Regions from separate parts of the Homo sapiens genome. Here region 1 is linked to region 2. Evidence: promoter capture Hi-C in human tissues and cell types (Jung and others, 2019). All regions are on one chromosome and are shown on one strand. Each heading gives the region's core, a stretch centred on a gene start or on the middle of the fragment in contact. The rest is flanking DNA. Distances are from core to core; before and after follow the strand shown.

Region 1 (3,450 bases), core at 713-3,212, 290 kb after region 2:
GGAGTATGTGTTGAGCTCATCCCCGGGCGATTCCTGTCTAAGAAAAGGAGGATTTGTAAGTTGGCTTGAGGAACTTGTTCCTATCTCTCTCTCTCTCTCTCTCTCTCTCTCTCTCTTTTTTTCCCCTAAAGCAAAACATGCCTGTTTAGTTTCCTTAGATGTTCACAGCATTAATTACAGGGTATTTTCAAACAACGTTTGTTGTAAATAGAACTCAGCAAACATAGTAGGAGATGTAAACTCAACTTTTAAAAACTAAAGTAATAATGTTTTGGTGGGGGGACACATTGATAGTATTGTGAGATAAGAACTGAAATCTGGATCAAAGTTCATTGGTCTATCAGAAAACACCATTTTTACTTTAAAATAAAAGCAAAAGGGGGGTGGTGAAGGAATTAAAAAAATAAAGCTGATGCTGGGATGTTAACAGGGAATTCCAGATTTGAGAGCAGTGATTTGCCAATACCCGAGAAACCTTAATATAGATCAGATTATAGGGCTATTCTTGTTTTGTTAGCTACGATTTAATTATAGAATCCTCTTTGGCCCTCCTTGAACGGCTTTGTTTCTCACACCTGGCCTGTCAAGAAATTAGGGATTCTGTTAATTCTTTCTTACAAATTTTTTTGATTCATTATCACTGACCTCTCTGATGCTAAACTGAAGTCAAATAAGTCTCTGTGTCTATAGCCTTTTTCTTTTTAAGTCTTAAGCATTTTTCTATGAGCATCTGTGATAGCCTTTCTCAAAACAATTTCTTTCTTTATCATTAACTTTCTAGATCGAGAAGTGTTAAGATGTATTTCCATTTGAGTCTTCCTCATTTTGAATTCTGCGACTGTTGTCATATTCCAGGTCACAGACAGGAAGGCCATGAGAGGCACATGAATCTTCTTCCCTCCCTTTCTCCTGTCTAAACTTGTTTTGTACTTTTTCAAAGACATTTCTCCCTGCAGTCATTTTGGGCTGATATCACCTGAAAACAGTCATTTAAAAGATTTTAATGTAATTTGTGGGAAAGAACAGCAGAAGCACCTTCTTTCCCACAAATTGAGAATTAATATTATAACTGTCTTTCTTTAATAGCATTTGTTGCTCAGTATTTCTTAGTGTTATACATCTTTTGCTGGGTATCAGAGGCTTGGTCCTATTTTCCCTATTCCACATTAAATTTTGTTAGAGTAACAGTAGTTCATTTTTGGTGCAGCTTTCTCAAGTGTCAAGTACAGTTCTTAAGTACTAGCTATTCTAAAGCTGACCTGATTGCTTTTCAGTGTTTTGACCCTGCAGAGACCTAGGTCAGGTTTAGTAGCTTGTGAATCAGATAGGAGATGGCTCCTGTTATTTGAACCTTCCCAAGGGGCTGCTTGGGAAGAACAAGATCTACCCTTTGGATGTGAGTTACTTCTCTTTCTTCACCCTATCCCCAGCTCACCTCTTTTTCTGTCCTCACTCTTTCCTCATCTTATGAGCACAGATTCCTCAGCAGAAATTAGTGTTGTGCATCAGTAGGTTGCTAGTGTGGTGAACTGGAACCTGTGACTCTAGCTGTGAATTCTCTGTCATGTGTGTGATCAGTTTCTAATTCTTGGGCACTAACCAGGAGGCATGTGCCTGCATTACTGTGAAGCTTGTAGGAGGCAGAAAAATAGTTGGAATTAGGAGGAAGATACATGGTGGGATTGAATCATTTTGCCACTTATTTTTCTCTCTTTAAACAGTCATCTCACTAGACGGTTATTTTGATGACAAAAGCTGTATCATTTGTCTTGGGAGACTGGTGATTTACCTCTTTTACAAAAGAATCGTGACAGAGGAGGTTAAGACTTCAGGCTAGATAGATGGGGCCAGAAGATTGGACTTTAACCATCAAGATAATTTACTGAGCTGCTGAGGTATGCATAAAGATAAATGAAAATTCTGAAGTATGCATGAAGATAAATGAAAATTCTCCAAATCTGTGTTCCAGCTTCTTTTAGAAGGAAGATTGTGGGTAATGGAATATTATCCCATAGTTTGACTTAGATTGCATCTATAGAGTGATACAAGAGGACTGATCTAGTGACATCAAGCCACTTGTTGGCATATACAGTCTTCTGGTGGATGGAGACCTGTGGCTCAGTGAACTGATTATTATTGTTATTATTATTGAGGTGGAGTTTCACTCTTGTCGCCCAGACTGGAGTGCAATGGCATGATCTTGGCTCATCGCAACCTCCACTTCCAGGGTTCAAACGATTCTCCTGCCTTAGCCTCCTGAGTAGCTGAGATTACAGATGCCTGCCACCATGCCCGGGTAATTTTTGTATTTTTAGTAGAGATCCGGTTTCCCCATGTTGGCCAGGCTGGTCTCAAACTCCTGACCTCAGGTGATCTTCCCACCTCAGCCTCCCAAAGTGCTGGGATTACAAGCGTGAGCCACCGCGCCCGGCCAGTGAACTGATTATCAGCTTTGTGGTTGTATCCTCTTGATTTTATACCTAACCTGACTTTGCTCTGCCTGTTGGTCAGGATGACACCTGACCAAAGCTCTTTTTGTGGAAGCCTGAATCACTTTATTTTTGTCATAGTATGCATACATCTTCTTGAGGAAAGTGAGCCTTTTCTTTTAAAGTCTAGTCTGTCATTTAAAGTGTTGAATTCAGAGAACCAGGAAGATAGGATTTCTGCTTCTTGTAGATAATTGTTCTAAAGGAGGAGTGGTACTTGGTAGTGTATGGGGTCAGGGCATCCACGTATTTTTACTTTTGGGGTAGCTGTATCAACATTAATTCCAGTAAGCCTCACTTTAATCCTGAGAGCTGAAAGCATCATCTCTGATGGTATAGTGATTGTAGACCTCAAAGCAAGTAACTAAGAAGTTATTCTTAACACACTGACAACAGATAATTGAGACTTTAACTTTTCAGGTAAAGGTGTTTAGAACTAAAATAAATCTCTATGTAGTGTTTTACCATTTTCAGTGAACTTTGCTGGTTATGGCTAGATTGAAGCTGTTTAGCTCTTTGTCTAGCTTGAATTCATTTTGATTGTACAAATGGTCTCAGTTTAGTGGTTTTGGCTTCTGTGATAAGAATACATTCTGGCTAACAAGAAGAATCTGGCAACCATATTTTGTTCTGAGCATTCACTGTAAATTTTTGGTAGTATTCCACATAGGAATCTCAAACTTTAGGAGAGCAGCTTTCAGAATAATAGAGCTCAAAAATATCAATCAAGTCTTTTATTTTTCTTTTCTTTTGTATCCTTTATTTATTCTTGGAGTAGAACAGGTGCTCACCCCACAGCCCCCCATGGTTCAGGGTGGTTACAAAATCAGATGTAATTATTTTATTTTTGAGGCCCATGGGTGAGATTGCCATCTAAGGACCCTGCTCTCTGGAATACCAGCTGATCTTTTTCAAATAGGTGGAAGCCTAGCCAGCCAAAAAATGGATCATGATTTCTACC
Region 2 (3,461 bases), core at 791-3,290:
ATTCATGTATATACAAATTATGCCCAATTTTATATTCCCAACACAAATCTCTCTTCTGAGCACAAAGCTGTATTTCAAACTGCCTCTTGGATGTCATGAATGACCCCACACAATCAATCAATCAATCAATAAAAACTGATCTCAGCTGGGAGCAGTGGCTCAGGCCTGTAATCCCAGAATTTTGGGAGGCTGAGGCAGGTGGATCACTTGAGGCCAGGAGTTGGAGACCAGCCTGGCCAATATGGTGGAACCCCATCTCCACCAAAAATACAAAAATTGGCCGGGCACAGTGGAGGCGCCTGTAATCCCAGCTACTGGGGAGGCTAAGGCAGGAGAATTGCTTGAACCTGGGAGGTGGAGGTTGCAGTGAGCCAAGGTTGCACCACCACACTCCAGCCTGGGCGACAGAGCAAGAACCTGTCTCAAAAAAAAAAAAAAAACAAAAAAAAACTGGTCTCTAATCATCTTCTAGTGTTCCCTATCCAGCTTGAGGGATTCCGTGATAGTGAGTGAATGGTACCACCATCTATTCAACTACATAAGCCAGAAACCTAGGAGTTACCTTTGATTCCTCTCTTCACTCCCTAAAATCAACCCATCACCAAGTCCCACCCATTTTACCTCCTATATACCTCTAGAATCTGTCCAATTCTCTGCAGTTCCACCCATATCTCAGTCCTCACTGACATCTCTGACCAGGATTACTGCATATCCCAAGTGGTCCACATACATCGACTAGGGCTTCCCCAACCCCCGTCTGTTCACACCACTGAGCCTGAGGGATCAAGTCCCCTCCTCCACCACACCCCACTGGGGGAAGACGGCTCAGTGGTATCTCATCCGTTTTAAAATAAAAGCTACAAATTCCTGCAAGGTCTGACCGCTATCACGTACAGCTTCATCTTGTACCATACTCCCTTCATTCTCTTTGTACCAGCCACACTGGCTCTTTGTGCTTTTAGTCATTTTCCTCCCAAGTGCCTCAGGGCTCTGAACAAGTAGTTCTCTATGGAAGGTTCTGCCTTCACTTCTTCACCTAATTAATTACAACACTTCCTGCAGCTACCAGCGCAGGCATCTTTTCCTCTGAAAAACCTTCCTGCTTATTTCAGGCACTCATAGCATCAGGCAGCAGTAGGAGGCATTTCCATGTATTAGTGAGGTCATTGTTTAACGTTTTCCCCACCAGAGTTAAACGCCCTGAGAGTAGGGACCGTGCCCGGTTCACAACATACCCCCAACGCGCTGCTAAATGAATATCAGCAGGACGACTGAGGCAATGACCACGTTCATGGGCATGAGTCTCAAATTTCTCAACAAGACTGTGCTCTGGAGAAGGAGTCGGACATTTCCTTCATCACTGTCTCTCTCAGGGGGGCATACAGTAGGCCCTGATCAAAAACTGCAAAATCAGTGGCAGAAACAAGTCAGCCTCCTCGGCCAAATGGGGCACCGGAGGAGGCTGGGACGCAGGCCTTTCTCCCTGGGAATGCCCGGCACAGGACTGGCCACGATGGGCGCTCTTGAAGAAGGGAGCCGCAGGGGCTGGGTCTTGCCGCCAGAGACCCCAAGGCTCCGCTCCTGCCCCGAAAGGGAGCCCAGGCTACTACTTACCACAGCTGGGGACTCGGGGCCCGCCTCCCACCCCTTGCTGTCAGCACCCTCAGCTGAGAAGGGCAGGTTCAGACTGCACAACCGAGGCGTCGCCTCCAGACTCAGGCAGCCACCCACCCCGTTCTTCCTCATACGTACTAGGCGTCAGCTCCAGGTCCCCGAGTCGCTGCGCTGAACTAAACGCCGACCCCAGTCAGCCAGCGCGTTTCCACCCACAAGACCCAGCGCGCCTAGGGCGGTCGCCAGCTCCGTCCACCAATCCTGGTATCGCACTCTCATGACGTCAGAAAGATATGCCCAATAACAAGAGACTATCCGAGGGCGGTGCAAATGGAAATATTGAAAGCCGATTGGTTCTTCCAAGCTGGAAGTTGTGGAGGAAGGACTAATTTGGAACCAATTGCGTGGCGCCTGAGAGCGGCAGCGCGGTCAGTGGCGGCGCTGAAGAGACCGGTTGCCGCCATGATAGAACAGCAGAAGCGTAAGGGCCCAGAGTTGCCGCTGGTTCCAGTCAAGCGGCAGCGGCATGAGTTGCTGTTGGGAGCGGGGTCTGGCCCAGGAGCCGGGCAGCAGCAGGCGACGCCGGGAGCCTTGCTGCAAGCGGTAAGTGAAGAAGCAGGCGGCCTTTGGCCCTCAGCTCATCTTCCTCCCCTCAGAGCGCTGTATCTGGTGATCCCTGACCCTTTCCCGCATTGCGGGGGCAGAACGAGAGTTTCTACGCAGAGTTAAAGCACATAAACACTGTAAAAGCTCCCCATAGCCTGCGAATGCTGCGTACGTGTTCCCCCGTTTGGCGCCCGTTTTCAGCCTCTCGACTGCCCTGAGATAGCATTAGAATTAGAGTTGAGGACCTTGGGCTCAAAACCCTGACCCGGGTTTAAGCATCCTGACTCTAACATGGATCTGGCATAGAACAAAAATTCCGAAGAGTGTGTAGAATGAATGAATGAGGGAGGGAAGAAAAAAGGGAAATGATTTGTGTTGGCTCGTTTTGGGACTTTGGGCAAGTTGCTTTTCCCTTTATTTCTCTGCACTAGTATTATTAACAACTAAATAGCAGCTAACATTCATTGACTCTTGTACTAAAGTGTTTCGTATATGAAATTTCCATTGATCTTGGTAGCAGCCTGTTAGGAACGTTATTAACCCATTTTGCAGATGGAAAAACAGACTTACCAAGTACGTGATAGAAGCAGATTTCGAACTGAGAAACCATGCTCCTAACTACATTTTTTGTAAGATAGAAATAGTGATCACACTTCTAATGTCCTGTTTAGGCTCAGACGAGGAAATACGAGTGTCCTCACATCTCCTCAATAAATCCTGCTGGCACCGTCCTCAAAATAGGTCTAGAATTGCTACTTCTACCATCTCCATCATTGCCTCATGGCCTAAGCCATTATTATCTCATCTGGCATTTTTGTAGTGGGACCCTAACTGGTCTTCCACTTTCTACCTTTGTATCAGCACCTGTTACCAAGCCAATAACCAAAGGAATCCTTCTAAACATCAGATCACATTACACTCTGCAGAAAACTTTCTGGTGGCTTTGTACTTCATCCAGAGTAAAAACCAAAATTCTTGTAATTATTTGCCCTCTTTCCCTTTACCTCTCTGACCAATTTCTTATTGCTCACCTGGCTTCAGTTACTCTCTCTTCCAAGCCTCTGCTTCAGGACCTTTGCATTTGCTGTCCTCTCTGTGGGATTGCTCTTCACAAATGTTTACATGGTTTACTATTCAGCTCCTGCGAATATTTGCCCAAATGTAATTTTTTCAGTGAGGATTTTCCTGACCACCCTATTTTAAATTGCAGTACCACATACTGTGGAACCCACATTGCTTCT

The links. The method cuts DNA at HindIII sites, captures the fragments that hold promoters and counts their contacts. A contact is called where the count stands out against the background at its distance.
Region 1: a fragment that was not itself captured here is called in contact with the fragment with the promoter of SNRNP40 in region 2 in 1 of the 25 tissues and cell types used here (adrenal gland).

What each region holds. Positions count from the first base shown.
Region 1 is chr1:31,002,458-31,005,907 of GRCh38, reverse strand. PUM1 (pumilio RNA binding family member 1) reads left to right here. Exons shown (of 22, transcript NM_001020658.2): 5 at 1-55. Among named protein-coding and RNA genes, the nearest start is that of SNORD103C, 36 kb to the right of the region's middle. The HindIII fragment of the contact is 7,138 bases long and covers 1-3,450 here.
Region 2 is chr1:31,295,367-31,298,827 of GRCh38, reverse strand. It overlaps SNRNP40 (small nuclear ribonucleoprotein U5 subunit 40), which reads left to right and starts at 2,040. Exons shown (of 10, transcript NM_004814.3): 1 at 2,040-2,217. The coding sequence starts at 2,077. ZCCHC17 (zinc finger CCHC-type containing 17) reads right to left here and starts at 1,796. Exons shown (of 8, transcript NM_016505.4): 1 at 1,753-1,796. RefSeq lists an enhancer at 2,062-2,271. The HindIII fragment of the contact is 16,238 bases long and covers 1-3,461 here.